2 separate regions of the Homo sapiens genome follow, and region 2 is linked to region 1. The links are contacts of gene promoters, found by promoter capture Hi-C in human tissues and cell types (Jung and others, 2019). All regions are on one chromosome and are shown on one strand. The core of a region is centred on a gene start or on the middle of the fragment in contact, and the rest is flanking DNA. Distances in the headings are between cores, read along the strand shown.

Evidence for each region. The method cuts DNA at HindIII sites, captures the fragments that hold promoters and counts their contacts. A contact is called where the count stands out against the background at its distance.
Region 2: the fragment with the promoter of OAZ1 here is called in contact with the fragment with the promoter of TMEM259 in region 1 in 1 of the 25 tissues and cell types used here (hippocampus).

Annotation. Positions count from the first base shown.
Region 1 is chr19:1,015,537-1,022,372 of GRCh38, reverse strand. It overlaps TMEM259 (transmembrane protein 259), which reads left to right and starts at 1,250. Exons shown (of 11, transcript NM_001033026.2): 1 at 1,250-1,601. The coding sequence starts at 1,377. RNU6-2 (RNA, U6 small nuclear 2) reads right to left here and starts at 851; the gene lies at 745-851. RefSeq lists silencers at 1,059-1,168, 1,329-1,398, 1,429-1,488, 3,747-3,966 and an enhancer at 2,764-3,363. The HindIII fragment of the contact is 9,371 bases long and covers 1-2,149 here.
Region 2 is chr19:2,268,133-2,274,990 of GRCh38, reverse strand. OAZ1 (ornithine decarboxylase antizyme 1) reads right to left here and starts at 5,505. Exons shown (of 5, transcript NM_004152.3): 1 at 5,247-5,505; 2 at 3,461-3,606; 3 at 3,037-3,209; 4 at 2,171-2,256; 5 at 1,503-2,019. The coding sequence starts at 5,392. The coding sequence ends at 1,883. It overlaps LOC105372240 (a long non-coding RNA gene), which reads left to right and starts at 5,738. Exons shown (of 2, transcript XR_936242.3): 1 at 5,738-5,889; 2 at 6,119-6,498. PEAK3 (PEAK family member 3) reads left to right here. Exons shown (of 4, transcript NM_198532.3): 4 at 1-360. RefSeq lists enhancers at 745-884, 2,325-2,384, 2,395-2,454, 5,192-5,806 and silencers at 1,265-1,514, 1,975-2,124, 3,664-4,003, 4,424-4,483, 5,449-5,938 and 1 more. The HindIII fragment of the contact is 6,913 bases long and covers 4,253-6,858 here.

The DNA of each region.
Region 1 (6,836 bases), core at 1-2,500:
AATAGCCGGGTGTGGTGGCGGAAGCCTGCAATCCCAGCTATTCAGGAGGCTGAGGCAGAGAATTGCTTGAACCCAAGAGGCGGAGGTTGCAGTGAGCCGAGATCACGCCACTGCACTCCAGCCTGGGCGACAGAGTGAGACTGCGTCTCAAAAAAAAAAAACAACACAAAACTTTTTTTTGGCGGGCTTGGTGGGTCACACCTGTAATCCCAGCACTTTGGGAGGCCTAGGCGGGCAAATCACCTAAAGTTAGGAGTTCGAGACCAGCCTGACCAACATGGAGAAACCGTCTCTACTAAAAATATAAAATTAGCCTGGAGTGGTGGCGCATGCCTGTAATCCCAGCTACTTGGGAGGCTGAGGCAGGAGAATGGCTTGAACCCGGGAGGCGGGGGTTGCAGAGAGCCGAGATCGCGCTTCTGCGCTCCAGCCTGGGCGACAGAGCGAGAATCCATCTCAAACAAACAACCAAAAAACCCAAAAACCATAGTATCCTCTTGTGTACGCAGCCGGCACTCAGTAAGTGCCCCTGAAGAGCACTTATTTATTCATTGCTGCGCGAAGCTACGGGGGCAGGTGGCACAGCGCCACGCAGGAGTAGAGACTGCCAGATTGTTCTACCGCCAACCTTAGTGGCGCCACAGGAGATGGACACGGGAAGACTATGACGTTACTGGCCCTGTGACGTCATGGCAGGATCCGGGCAAGAGAAGCCAAACGAGGTGACGAGCTGTAGACTACAGCAAAAATATGGAACGCTTCACGAATTTGCGTGTCATCCTTGCGCAGGGGCCATGCTAATCTTCTCTGTATCGTTCCAATTTTAGTATATGTGCTGCCGAAGCGAGCACGACTCAAGGGTTACTGTCACACCTATTTTAAGCCCTTCAATCAAATCATCTTTTGGTTAGGATAACTTATGGTCGGTTTCATATTTAGCATAATTTCCTACAGTGGTATGTTGCAGAACAACTTTCGTGCTTACGCTTACTTTGATGTCTTCGATCACGTAAAATCCCATATCTTATCGTAATTTTACCGCCTTATACTGGCCTCATAGCCGCGGTGGATTGTGGGTGCCAATATGCAAAAGAGGTGGCCCAGATGCAGGCCCGCCCCCTGGAGCGGCCGAGGTAGGGGGTGAGGCCTCCGCGGGCGCCGCTGGCATCCCAGCGTTCTCTGCGGGCGCAGGGGGGCCGCTCTTGCCCGGCGTGGCGACTCGCTAGCGTCAGCAGCGCCGCAGCCGGACGAGAAAGCGGAAGATGGCGGCGGCGGCCGGGAGGCCGTGAGGAGAGCGGCGGCTGCGAGGGCGGCCGATGGCGGCCGGGAGGCGCCCTCGGACACTTGCGGGTCGTTAGGGCGCGACGCTGGGAGGCATGTCGGAGCACGTGGAGCCCGCAGCTCCGGGGCCCGGGCCCAACGGCGGCGGCGGCGGCCCGGCCCCCGCGCGCGGGCCTCGCACCCCCAATCTCAACCCCAACCCCCTCATCAACGTGCGCGACCGGCTCTTCCACGCGCTGTTCTTCAAGATGGCTGTCACCTATTCGCGGCTCTTCCCGCCCGCCTTCCGCCGTCTCTTCGAGTTCTTCGTGCTGCTCAAGGTGACCGCGGCCCCGACCCCCGACCCTTGACCCCAGCGGCTGTCCCGACCCCCAAGTCTGCTACCTCCGACCGCGACCCCTGGCCCCGCTGGGGACAGCGAGCGCCACCCTGCACCCTGAGGCCTATACCCGGCCCTACCGATTAGGGCTCTCCCTCGCGACCTCTGACCCTGGGATTGGCCAGGGACACCGTCTCGTGACCCCATCCCGCCCGGGGACGTCCACCCGGGAAGGCCGGATCCCGCTGCACTAGAAGCCGCTGTTCTCTACTCTGGAAACCTCACTGTCAGCTCCCTCCAGGGCCCATCCTGTCCCCGGCGACCGCCTTTCCCAGGTCCCCACCTACCCAGGCTTGGAGTCCGGTCCTGGCCTGCGAGGTAGCACCTCCCGCCCTTTGACCCCTGACTGTGCCGCCTGAGACCCTCAGTTCCGAGGCCTCTCTCCCCTCCCAATGTGCTGGCCCAGAACCCAGCCTGACGCAGGTCTCCCTCGGACCAACCCCTGTCCTGGAAGTCGACTCCCCACTCCCCTCTCTCCCTCCTTGTAGCCTTTCAGCTGCGTTCCCCGCTCCTGAGCCTCAGGGGAATGTGACTTAGCTGAGGTCACCTCGCTAGGGTTAGCGGCAAAGTCACCGGCAGCAGCGTACCACCCCATCCCCGGCCTCTTCCTCCGCTGGGTCCCCACTCCCTTCCTGCTTCAGGAGCTCAGGTTGTGGGTCTGTCGCCCGTGCCTCCCCTATGAGGCACCGGCCTCCGCGTCTTGGGCTCTGTCCCCCTCCCGCCCTCCTCAGATGGCAGAGGTCTCAGCCGTGCAGGACAGGCATCGGCCTGACTCCCTCTGAGAAGGAGTCTTGCTTGGGTGACAAGAGGGGCTCAGTAGCAGCTGCAGCCCCTCAGAAAACAAGCTGGCCGGGGTCCTGGGCCACCTGGCGAAATGGGGACGTGGCCGTTTTCGTTCTGCATCAGAACACCGCCGCGCCGGGGCTTGGGGGCTGCTGAAGTTGCGCCGTGAGCTTTTTGGATCTAGCCTGCAAAGAGGGGTCCGATGCTGGCGGGCCAGGCTGCGATCGTGGGCAAGTTCCCAGCCTGACACAGGTTGGTCAGGAGCTGGCTGCTTTTTTGGGCTCGGCAAGTGGAGCTGGACCTTGGCCGTCCTGCGGACCTGGGTGTGGGTCCCAGCCTGCTGCCACTTCACGGAAGGCCCCCCAGCCTCCAGATCCGTGCCTCCCCAGGCCAGAGCTCAGCCCATCATCCTTCCCACCTTCCTCCCTGCAGCCCCCCAGAGTGGCATGGTCGCCTCAGTAGGCACCTGAGCAGGGCTGTGAAGGGTTACGCAGGCAGGCGGCCTTTCCCGGCTCTGGGGTCCACAGACGGGGCCTGAAACTGTGGACGGAGGCTGGTCTGTGGACGTGGGTTTTCCTTCCATGGAGTAGCCTGGGAACAGGATGGAGCCACTGTGTCCTTAGGCTTGTGGAGGGTGTGTGCTGGGTGCCAGGCCAGGTTCCCCCGACGGAGCTCAGCCTCCTTGGGAGGTGCATCCCTGTCGCCTGGGCCCTGGTCCCACCATGTCCCGGTTTGGAAAGGGATCAAGCCTACCCGGCTCCATCTCCAGGCCAATACCACTCACAGGTGGTCAGATGGGGCTGGGCCAGAGCTGGAGTTCCCCGTCTTCTGTGTAGGGTGGAGACTCTTGGGAGGTTCTCAGTAACCCCAATCCCTCCTCTCTCAGCAGAGGGCTTTGGACTGTGAGATCTCTGGGTGGTGAATTTTTTTTTTTTTTTTTTTGAGATGGAGTCTTGCTCTGTCACCCAGGCTGGAGTGCAGTGGTTTGATCTCGGCTCACTGCAAACTCCACCTCCTGGGTTCAAGCAATTCTTCTGCCTCAGCCTGCGGAGTAGCTAGGATTACCGGTGCCCACCATCACAACCGGCTAATTTTTTTGTCTTTTTAGTAGAGACTGGGTTTTGCCATGTTGGCTAGGCTGGTCTCAAACTGCTGATTTCAGGTGATCTGCCCGCCTCGGCCTCCCAAAAGGCTGGGATTACAGGCGTGAGCCACCATGCCTGGCCTGGGTGGGGAAATCTGTTCTTTGTGAATTTTCCACCCGGTAATCTGGTGGCACAGAATCTGACCCTGCTGCCTTCACTTTTACTTATCTGCAAAGTGCAGGCTGGAACTGCCTGATTTCAGAGGCTGCCTTGAGTTCCAGAAGGCTCCTCTGCTTCCTGCCTGCCTGGCTTCCGGGGGTCTCCCTGCAGAGAGCCAGGTCCTCCCTGGTATGATCCCTTCAAGGTGGCTTCATCCTGTGGCATCTGTGCAGCTGAGCTCCCAGCCCTGAGCTGGCATGGAGTCCCCCAGCTCTCACCCATGCCTGGGTGGCTTTAGGAAATGCCAGGATCTCCCAGCTCTGAGCCAGCATGGAGCCCCCCGGTCCCTCATCCATGCCTGGGTGGCTTTAGGAAATGCCAGGCAGTGCCAGGTGCTGGGGAGAGAGGAGGCGGCAGGGGCCTGTGTTCCAGGGGCCCTCGGGAGACCTCCATCCAGCCTCAGTATCCACCTCTGCTGGCCTTCATGGCCCTGAGCCCAGTGTGGCAGAGACTGTCCATCTTGGGGCACTGGGTGCCTGCACCTGTGCGGTTGGGCTCTGGACCCAGGTGACCACCAAGTGGATGCCCACAGGGTGAAGGGGTCTCGACTCAGCACCCCTGGACATGGGCAGGGGCCCGCGCCTAGCCACAGGGAGTAATGGGGCTCCTCTTGTGGGGTCGTGACGATTAAAGACGGGGTATGTGAGACCCCAGGGGCCCTGCTCTGAATGGGGGACCTGTCACATTGAGGCCACTGTGAGGCTGCAGTGGAAGGAGAGGCCCCGGTGGCCTGGAGGCAGGAAGCACCCCGGGTGGACAAAGGGGAGCCCCAGGTAGTGTTTCCTGGCTGGGGCTGAGGGCTCTGTGTCCCACCTGGGAGGAGAGTGTGGCTCCGCGGGCTTGTGTGTCCGTCGGTCTGTGGGTCAGTCAAATACCCAGAGAGCGGGCAGGCTGCTCCTGGCACTCCAGGTCTGTGGGGAGACAGGAAAGGAAAGGCCCACCCAGTGGCCGAGTGTTGGGGTGCCCTGAGAGCCTCGGCCAGAACATCCAGGAAGCTTCCTGGAGGAGGCGGTGAGCACGGCCCCAGGCTGGGGGAGGTGCTCCTGTGGGTGCAGCCGTGTGTGGGCTGACCCGGAGGAAGGAAGGGTCATAGGGGTGGGGTGACTCCTGTGCTGGGTGGGCAGGGCCTCCTGGAGGTGAGCCACAGCCAGTGGGATGGGGTGGGGTGTCCAGGCAGCTGGAGAGCGTGTGGGAAGGCCGTGGGGCTGGAGCATGTGGGTGCCTGCTGGGGAGCCTGGGTCAGGGACAGGGTCATGGAGTGTAGGGGACTGGACCACCCAGGGCATGCGAGTGGCTGAGCCAGGTTGCGGGCAGAGGGTGGCCAGGGGCCCATGGGAGCATTTGCAGGTGAGCTCCCTGGGGAGGGTTACTGTGGGCGTGGACGAGGCTGCCTGGGCGTGTGGCTCAGGGCCGGGCCTGGTGAGGTGGCTGCTGCAGGGTGGCTGATGACAGACAGGTCTTGGGGAGGAGGACCCGGGACTCGGGATGAGCCTGCGTCTGGCTGGGTGGTGCCTGCTCCTTGTTTTGTGGTGGGAGACTGAAGGGGAGCTGAGGCTTTGGCGGCAACGGGCCTTGTCCAGTGGGGCATTTTTCTGGTCATGCTCAGTCAGGGAAGAGGGGCCCTGAGCTCGGTCAGCACGGAGCACCTGATGGGGCAGAGACACAGTGACGTCTGAGTCATAGCGTCTGGTGGACTTGAAGTCTTTGACTGGAGTGTGTGCACATTGTGTGAAAACACTGGTGCCCTCTCATCACGTCCGCTGTCTTCATGGGACGGGTCACTCACACCAGTGCTGGGTGTGGCAGGATGTGTGTCCTGTGCCCTCTCCCGCTGACCCTGGACCAAGCTGACCCTGCCCAGGGCAACCCCAGGAGCTGCTCTTCCCCGTGGGGCCTTAATTGTGCAGACTGGCACTGCCCTGGCCCCTCCCTCCTGGCCATGTGACCTCAGCAGGTCCAGGTCTGTCGGGACCTCTGTGTCAGTTCCTCGTATATAAACCAGGGATGGTAACAGCCGTGCGTCCCTTGTGAAGCGTTGGACAGCCCCGACCTCGGCCCACTGTGTATCAGCACTTTTTGGAACATCTTGGCACAGGGTCCATTGCTGTCCTGGGCACAGCTCCTGCTGGATGTGTGGGCCTGGAAGGCAGAGCGTGGCCACCAGCAGCATCCACCATGGGCCTCGCGGGCCCCTCTCTCCTGAGAGTGCTGAGCCGAGGGGCTGTGGGGTCAGTGTCTCTGACCGTGACCCACCACTGGGCCCAGCCTCCGTGGCTCCTGTCCCCAGATGCCATATGGGGAAACGCTAGGCTTTGAAAGCATCTCAGGCTCCGGGGCTGCCCCCCTTCCACACTGCCCTCCCTGTCTTCCCCAGGACACAGGGGAACCCTCCCCAGCAGAGGGCCCTGCCCCCTCCCCCCGCCCACCCCTCATTTGTAGCTCCGGCGTCTGTGGGCGGGGCCTGAATGCCTGGCGGTCAGGGTTCTGCTCTTGCCTGTTTCTGCTTAAATCTCAGCGCCGGGCCAGCCTTCATCCCCTGCGGCTCTTTTGGCTGTAAGGACTAGAAATGCAGTTCAGATCAGCCCAAGGGATTCTCCAGCTCCTGGGGCTGGGGAGTGTGATGGGGCTCGCCCCAGGTGCACGTGCGGCTAGACCCAGGGCTTTATCCGTGCTCAGACTCAGGGCCTCCCACAGGTCACAGCACTGCGGCCGGGCTGGAAGTGGGTTGCTTTGCTGACTCGGCCCTTTGCTCAGTCTACAGAGGGTTCTGGAGAGGAGGCCCCAGCTCACTGTGGGCGTGGAAGAGTTGAGGCTCCTGGTGGTCTTGCCTATGGCTGTGCGGCCACAGGTGGCTCACTGCACCCCGGGCATTGGTGCACCTGCCAGCAGGTCACGGGTCACGGAGGGGCCCTGTGCTCCAGGCTCTCTGGCTTGTGATTTTGAGTCTGATCAATTCTTCCCTGAGAGTCTGGGGTTCCATGTGGCCGTGGGCGCCCCCTTGGCCCAGCTGGGTCCTCAGTTTTGCGGATCGGGGCAGCAGGTAGACGTGACCCTCACCAGGCTCGGGGGTGATGCCTGGACCTCAGGTT
Region 2 (6,858 bases), core at 4,256-6,755, 1.2 Mb before region 1:
CCCTCTGCCATACTGTTCCAGTTCCACTTTCTTTTTCTTTTTTTTTTTTTTTTTTTTTTGAGACGATCTCGGCTTACTGCAAGCTCCGCCTCCCGGGTTCACGCCATTCTCCTGCCTCAGCCTCCCGAGTAGCTGGGACTACAGGCGCCCGCCACCACGCCCGGCTAATTTTTTGTATTTTTAGTAGAGACGGGGTTTCTCCGTGTTAGCCAGGATGGTCTCCATCTCCTGACCTCGTGATCCGTCCGCCTCGGCCTCCCAAAGTGCTGGGATTACAGGCGTGAGCCACCGCGCCCGGCTACAGTTTCACTTTCTCTAAACAAATAAAGGTGCCCACTCTGGGCCATCGCTAGCTCCTTACCCTGCGTTCTCCGCCCACTCTCAGGAGCATTTATTCCTCTGTTACTGTCCACAAGGCTGTGAGTTCCCTGGGGGCAAAGGCCAGGCTTGGCACACAGTAGGTGCTCACTTAATACCACAGGATGATGTAATAAACAGGCACAGAGGAGACTCACTGGAGGGGGATGGAGTCTTCCTTTATGCCTCTGACACACTGCACTGCCCTTGCCTGTGGCTTCCTTCCTGGAGACTCAGAGTTGCCCCTCCATTCCATTCCCCATGGCAGTCCTGGGAGGATCTTTCCAACCCCAGATATGAGGTCCCTCTCCAGCTCAAACACCTCCCATGGCTCCCCAGTGCCTCAGAATACATACAGGGCTCTTCCAAAGTCTCCTCAGAGTCTCCAACCCCATGTCGTTCATCCCTGGAGGTTACTTTCCAGCCTCCACGCCTTTGCCCAAGTTGTTTTTTACACCAGAAAACAGCCCCCTCTACTCTGCTTCATACTCCTATTCATCCTGCATGGCCTCAGCTCTAATGCCCCTTCTCTGCATTTGCGCTGCCCAAATGAGCTGGGGGTATCTGTGTCCAGGTTTGTCCTCCCGGCCGACCCCACCACCGCTCAGACGGCTGAATATCCCCCCGGCCCGCTCGCCAAGTCTACAATCTTTTCGAGTTCCTCCTTTCCTCCTCTTTCCAGCCGGTTTCCCGGCCAGGCCTGGCCCTGATTTTCCGGGTGGCGCTCCCGGATGCGGCCGGCAGGTGGCGCTGCGGCCGGGCAGACGGCGGGGTTGCAGACCCGGAAGCGCTCCAGGCCACGACCCCGCCGGAAGTGCTGCTGCCCCGAACGGCGCTGCAGGTCCCTAGGGGCGGCCAGTAACACGGCGAACTCAAAAGTTGAGTTGGGAGCACAGACATCCCCATGCGCAGGCCCAGGCTGGGGCGGAAGGGGACGCGAGGCAGGAAGGGGCTTCAAGCGAGCAGTGGCAAGGCTGGCGCCAAGCTGAGGGCCCGGCCTCCCAGCCCAGGGGGTCTCCTCCGTGGGAGGGGTCCCGCAGCTGCCTGGGTGCCAAATCCCCCGCGACCCCTCCACCCAGGGCCCTCTGTGGTCCCAGGCACTCCTCCCACCAGTCCCCAGCGTCACCACCACAGAGCCAGGTGCATCGGGTGTAATCACTTTATTGGCTTTTGGAGAGCAATGGAGGGGATTAATACCTCATCTTTCCAAGTTAAAAGACTAAGACTGTTTCCAAAAGACTCCAAATAAGAAACTTCTCCTCAAAGTACAAGGATAATCTGAATCATCTTAAACCAGCAATAAAAAAGTAAAATATAAATTTTTATTTAGAATTAAAGCAAATACTTCAGTATCACAAACACAATATTAAACTTCAAGAAATACACCGCTAATTCGGAGTGAGCGTTTATTTGCACGATTACAACATGCGGACAAACCCAGGCGAGATGAGCGAGTCTACGGTTCCTACCCACCCGGCTGACAAGGGGTGGCCCCAGGGGCCGGATGCCCAGCCCCGAGGCGGCCCTACTCCTCCTCCTCTCCCGAAGACTCTCTCTCGAACGTGTAGGCCATGAAGCAAGCGTCGGGTCTCTTGGGGACAAGGGGATGCCCCGGTCTCACAATCTCAAAGCCCAAAAAGCTGAAGGTTCGGAGCAAGGCGGCTGCGGGGGAGAAGCCGTCAGAACCCCTGCCGACCAGAACCCCCCGCCCGCACCCCCCACCCCCGCAGGGAGACCGTGCCTGCGGGCTGAGAATGAAGGGGCGGCGCAGGCACCCCCACGCACCCTACTGCAGGCGATACGGGTCACCTACCTCTGTCCTCGCGGTTCTTGTGGAAGCAAATGAAGACATGGTCGGCTCGCAGCTGCTCCTCAGCGAACTCCAGGAGAACTGCAAAGCTGCAGCGAGTGTCAGCGTCTCGGCTGGCCCGACCCACCTGCCTACCTCCTGGGCCTTAGCAGCTACCCTGAGGCCCGCTCTACTCCAGGGTCCCCCTGGGGCCCAGATCGTCCTCTGGGTGGGGCCGTCCTGACACCACAGTGTTGAGCAGCACCGCTGCACCCACCCACGTGCATGCCCCATGACAGAAAAGCTCTGACACTGCCTGGCATCCCTTGGAGGGTAGAATCCCAGGGTACGAATTTGGAGTGCACTTTTTAAAAAGGGACCCCAGGCCGGGAGCGGTAGCTCACGCCTGTAATCCCAGCACTTTGGGAGGCCGAGGTGGGCGGATCACGAGGTCAGGAGTTCAAGACCAGCCTGGCCAACATAGCGAAACCTCGTCTCTACTAAAAACACAAAAATTAGCTGGGCATCGGTGGCGGGCGCCTGTAAGCCCAGCTACTCGGGAGGCTGAGGCAGGAGAATCGCTTGAACCCGGAAGGCAGAGGTTGCAGTGAGCCAAGATCATGCCACTGCACTCCAGCCTGGGCAACAAAAGCAAGACTCCATCTCAAAAAAAAAAAAAAGGGGGGACCCTGTCCCCACCAACAAAGCGATGGTGGCCCCCATATGTGCTGCCTGAAGGCAGTGCCCTCCCTCATCTGTCCCTGCACCCCTTGGGCAGCAACCCGCACCTGGTCCCTGCTCCCCTGGGTGAGCACTCCCCGCCTGTCCTTGCCCCTCACCTGGTCCCTGCTCCCCTGGGTGAGCACTCCCTGCCTGTCCTTGCCCCTCACCTGTCCTTGCTCCCCTCGGGCAGCGCGCCGCCCGGGATCTCGATGTAGAGGCTGCCGCCACTCAGCACTGTTCGCCAGTTAATGCGTTTGGCGTCTGTGAGCCTGGACTGGACGTTGAGAATCCTCGTCTTGTCGTTGGACGTTAGTTCCTCTGTTACATTCAGCCGATCATCCTGTCCAGGGGGTGCAGCCCAATTCAGAACCCTGACTCACCCCACAGGACTCCAAGAACCCGGCAGCGCTAAAGCTTGGGCCTAGGCCGTGTTGAGCTCAGGCAACGCCTGGGCTGCAGGAGACTGTGCGCCGGCTCTGATGAAACTCAGGGTTCCCACGATTACATTCAATCACAGGTACGGGCAGCAAGGTGCACAAGAAAGTACCTGTGGCCCCAGAGCAGCCCCAGCAGGCCCGGCCCCATACTCACGGAGTAGAATAAGTTAGCTGAAAGATTGTGATCCCTCTGACTATTCCCTCGCCCACCTGGGATCTTCAGGGGTGGGTGAGGGGCATCAGGAGCACCACCGAGGCCCCGGACCCGGGTTACTACAGCAGTGGAGGGAGACCCTGGAACTGAAGATGATGCAGGTCACGAGGCAGCGCCAGGCTCCGGGCGGAGACCCCTCCAGGGCGTCCGGGCGGCCTTCAGCACATCCCCACCCCTGCCTCGGCCAAAAGACCCCGCCCCGCCCAGGCAGGGGCCCACCCGGTCCCACACCCCCGAGGCTTCCCGAAGGCAGCTCCAACGCCTGCCCCAAGCACCTACAAGGGCAGCAGTCACTGAGCCCCGACTCCTCGGGCGGCGCCGCCCAGGACAGCCCAACCTTCCCAGGGCGGGGGGCCCCTTCCCCTCACGCAGCCCCGCCGGGGCAGAGCCTCACCCCCCGGCCACCAAGACAGCCAGCGCTTCCCCTTTTCAGTTCTGTCGCGGCTTCCCCTTTCCACCCTGCACTACGGCCAAAATCTGGGACTCTTGCTTGTCCCCGCGAAGACCGGGCGGGCCTAGCCTGACCTCATGGAGGACGCGCCCCGCTCCGGCTCCCGGCCGCCCGCCCCCCCGCCCCCGCTCCAGGCCCGGGCCCTCCCGGTTGCGTCATCCAGGCAGACGCGGCCTCGCGCCCCGGGGGAGATTTTCACAATCGCGCAGCCGGCAGCGCCAGCAGCCATTTGCTGCGCAGGGTAAACAGGCCCCAAAGTTGCCTCCATTTTGCACGGCCCCCAAACCGCGGCACCGCCAGCACCGCGGCCCAACCTCCCGATCCGGGGCTGAGCGACGCCCACCTCGGGGGACGCAGTCGGGAAAGCTCGACCGAGACCCCGCGGGCTCCCCCACAACCGCAGCTGGCACCCGCGCCCCCGGAAGCGGGACGCGTCTTCCCGGGAAGCGGCGGGGGTCTTCCCAGGGCGCTGCCGGGCTGTCGGAGTGCGCCACCCCCAGCTCCCCGGCGGCCCCCGCGGAGAAGCCCTGGGTGCCGTCTACGTGCGCGGCCTCGCCCGGCGCGTCCCGGGCCATCCAGACCGACTCGCTCAGGGGCGAAAAACGGGGCCCACGAGGTCCGTCGCGTGCAGGGGCCACATCGAGGCAACAGGGACCCGCGGGAGCTCGTCCACCGCAAAGCGCTCCCCGCTCCCGCAGCGCACGCTCGACGGCCGGGACCGAAAAGTGCAGATTCACCAGCCCCGCGGGCCCTGCCTGTCCGCGGACCAGCCCCCCAAGGCCGACCCCGCCCCCAACCAGATTGCCCCATCCTGCGCCTCCCAAATCCGACCCGACCGCACACCCTTCCTCCAAACCGAATTCCCAGTCTGCGCCCCGCAAATCCAACCCTCGACCAGAAGCCTCTCCCCTCCTCCGAAGCCGAGTCCCATCCCGCGAACCCCGCAAAAGACACACGCCTCCCCCGACTCCCCGTCCTGCGCCCAAATCCGACCTCCGACCCATGCCCCTCCCGCAAATCAGGCGCCCCGGACGGTGCCCCCCAAATCCAACTCCGCACCCTTGCCCCCCAAACCCGACTCCCCCGAGAGCACTGCTAAGGCCGGGGGGGACCTCCAGGCCCGCCCTGCGCCTACCTCGTCCCCGGCGCGATTCTGGCCTTGACAAAGGGGCGGATCTCGCGCGCCGGGGACCTATCTGGCGCCCCGAGGACGGCCCCCCGCAGGCCTGCGCGGCCGGCGCTTCTGGAAGCTTCGGACGGGGGCGGGGCACTTACCTCTCACTGCTGCTGCCGCCGCGGCTGTGCAGGCTTAGGAGCGGCATGGTGCGGCTGGCGTGGATGGTGGCGCTGGGTTTATCCCCTTCCTTCTCTCTGGCGAAGCAGTGGCTATTGAGGATCCGCTGCAGGGAGGATTTCACCATCCGGCCGCTGGGGTCCGAAACCAGGAAAACCTCCGCTGCGTCTCTCCGCGCCGCCGCCGCTGCTCGCCGTTCGCAAAATGGCGCCTCTGCCGCCGCCCGCCTTTATAGATGCTGCGCCCAGGCCACGCCCCCCGCGCCGCCGGGAACGCGACCGCACGAGGGGCAGAGCCGCGGGGCCGCCGGGAAAAAAAGTCGCGCCCGCCCCTCCCAGCGCCTGATTGGTGAAAGGGAAAGGGAAAGGAAGAGGCTCTCTGGAGATTGGTTGGTGAGCCTCGGGCCACGCCCCCTCCTGCGCGCGTCCTTCTGGGGGCGGGGCTGCCGTGGCGCCGGGTACGCGCTGCGCGCGCCCCGAGCCGTCCCCGCCCCCACAATCGTGCCTTGGGGGCGGGGGCGGCTCGCTGGGGCCGATTTTCGGGGGTCTTCGAGTGCCCGTTTGTCTGTCGTGGTCCACGTCGCCCTCCCTAGGGTCCCTTCACGCAGCGGGACCCCTCCCCTGGGTAGGCCCCCGGGTGCTTGGGGGGTTGTCCAACCGCGCCAGAATTATTTCCAGTAACACCTGGTAATCATCGATGATATTACTGGTTTTATTTTTTTAAATTTGGTCTTGCAGTTCTTAAAATGCTTCCAGTGTTTAAAAAAAAAGAACTTCCAATGTTAAAGATATTCAAATTTAGTAAAATATTTCGTGTACAATTTGGACTTAAGCAAAAATTTTACTCCTTGCAGATAAATTCAGATTTTTCCTGTGGAAACTGAAACTTACCCTAAGGAAAAACACTACTCCTGGCAGTTAAAATTCAGAAACACATCTCATGTATGAACTAAAATGTGGATCTCCCAAGGAAAAAACGATTTCTTTGGTGGTCAAGTTCGGTAAACTGTTTCGCCTGTGAGGTAAAATGTGGACTTACCTAGCAAAAATATTTCCCCTCCTGGTTAAATCCAGAAAAAAAATCTCAGGTATGAACTGCACTTTGCTTTTAATAAGCAAAGATATAACTCTTGGCAGTCACATACGGGTACATAGCTTGTGTGTAGACTAAATTATGAATTTAGCAAAAAGTTGCCACTTTGCAGTGAGGTTTAATAAAATATTTTTTATTTCATGTATAAACAAAATTTTGTTCTTACCAAGCAAAAATGCTACTCCTGGCAAATCCTGATTCCTTTCATGGTTTTAATTTTGTTTTGTTTGCGACCGGGCCTGGCTGTCACCCAGGCTGGAGTGCAGTGGCGCAATCTCGGCTCGCTGCAACCTCCGCCTCCCAGGTTCAAGCGATTCTCCTGCTTCAGCCTCCTGAGGAGCTGGGATTACAGGTGCCCGCCACCACGCCCGGCTAATTTTTGTATTTTTAGTAGAGATGGGGTTTCACCATGTTGGCAAGGCTGGTCTGGAACTCCTGACCTCAGGTGATCCGCCTGCCTCGACCTCCCAAAGTTTGGGGATTAACAGGCGTGAGCCACCG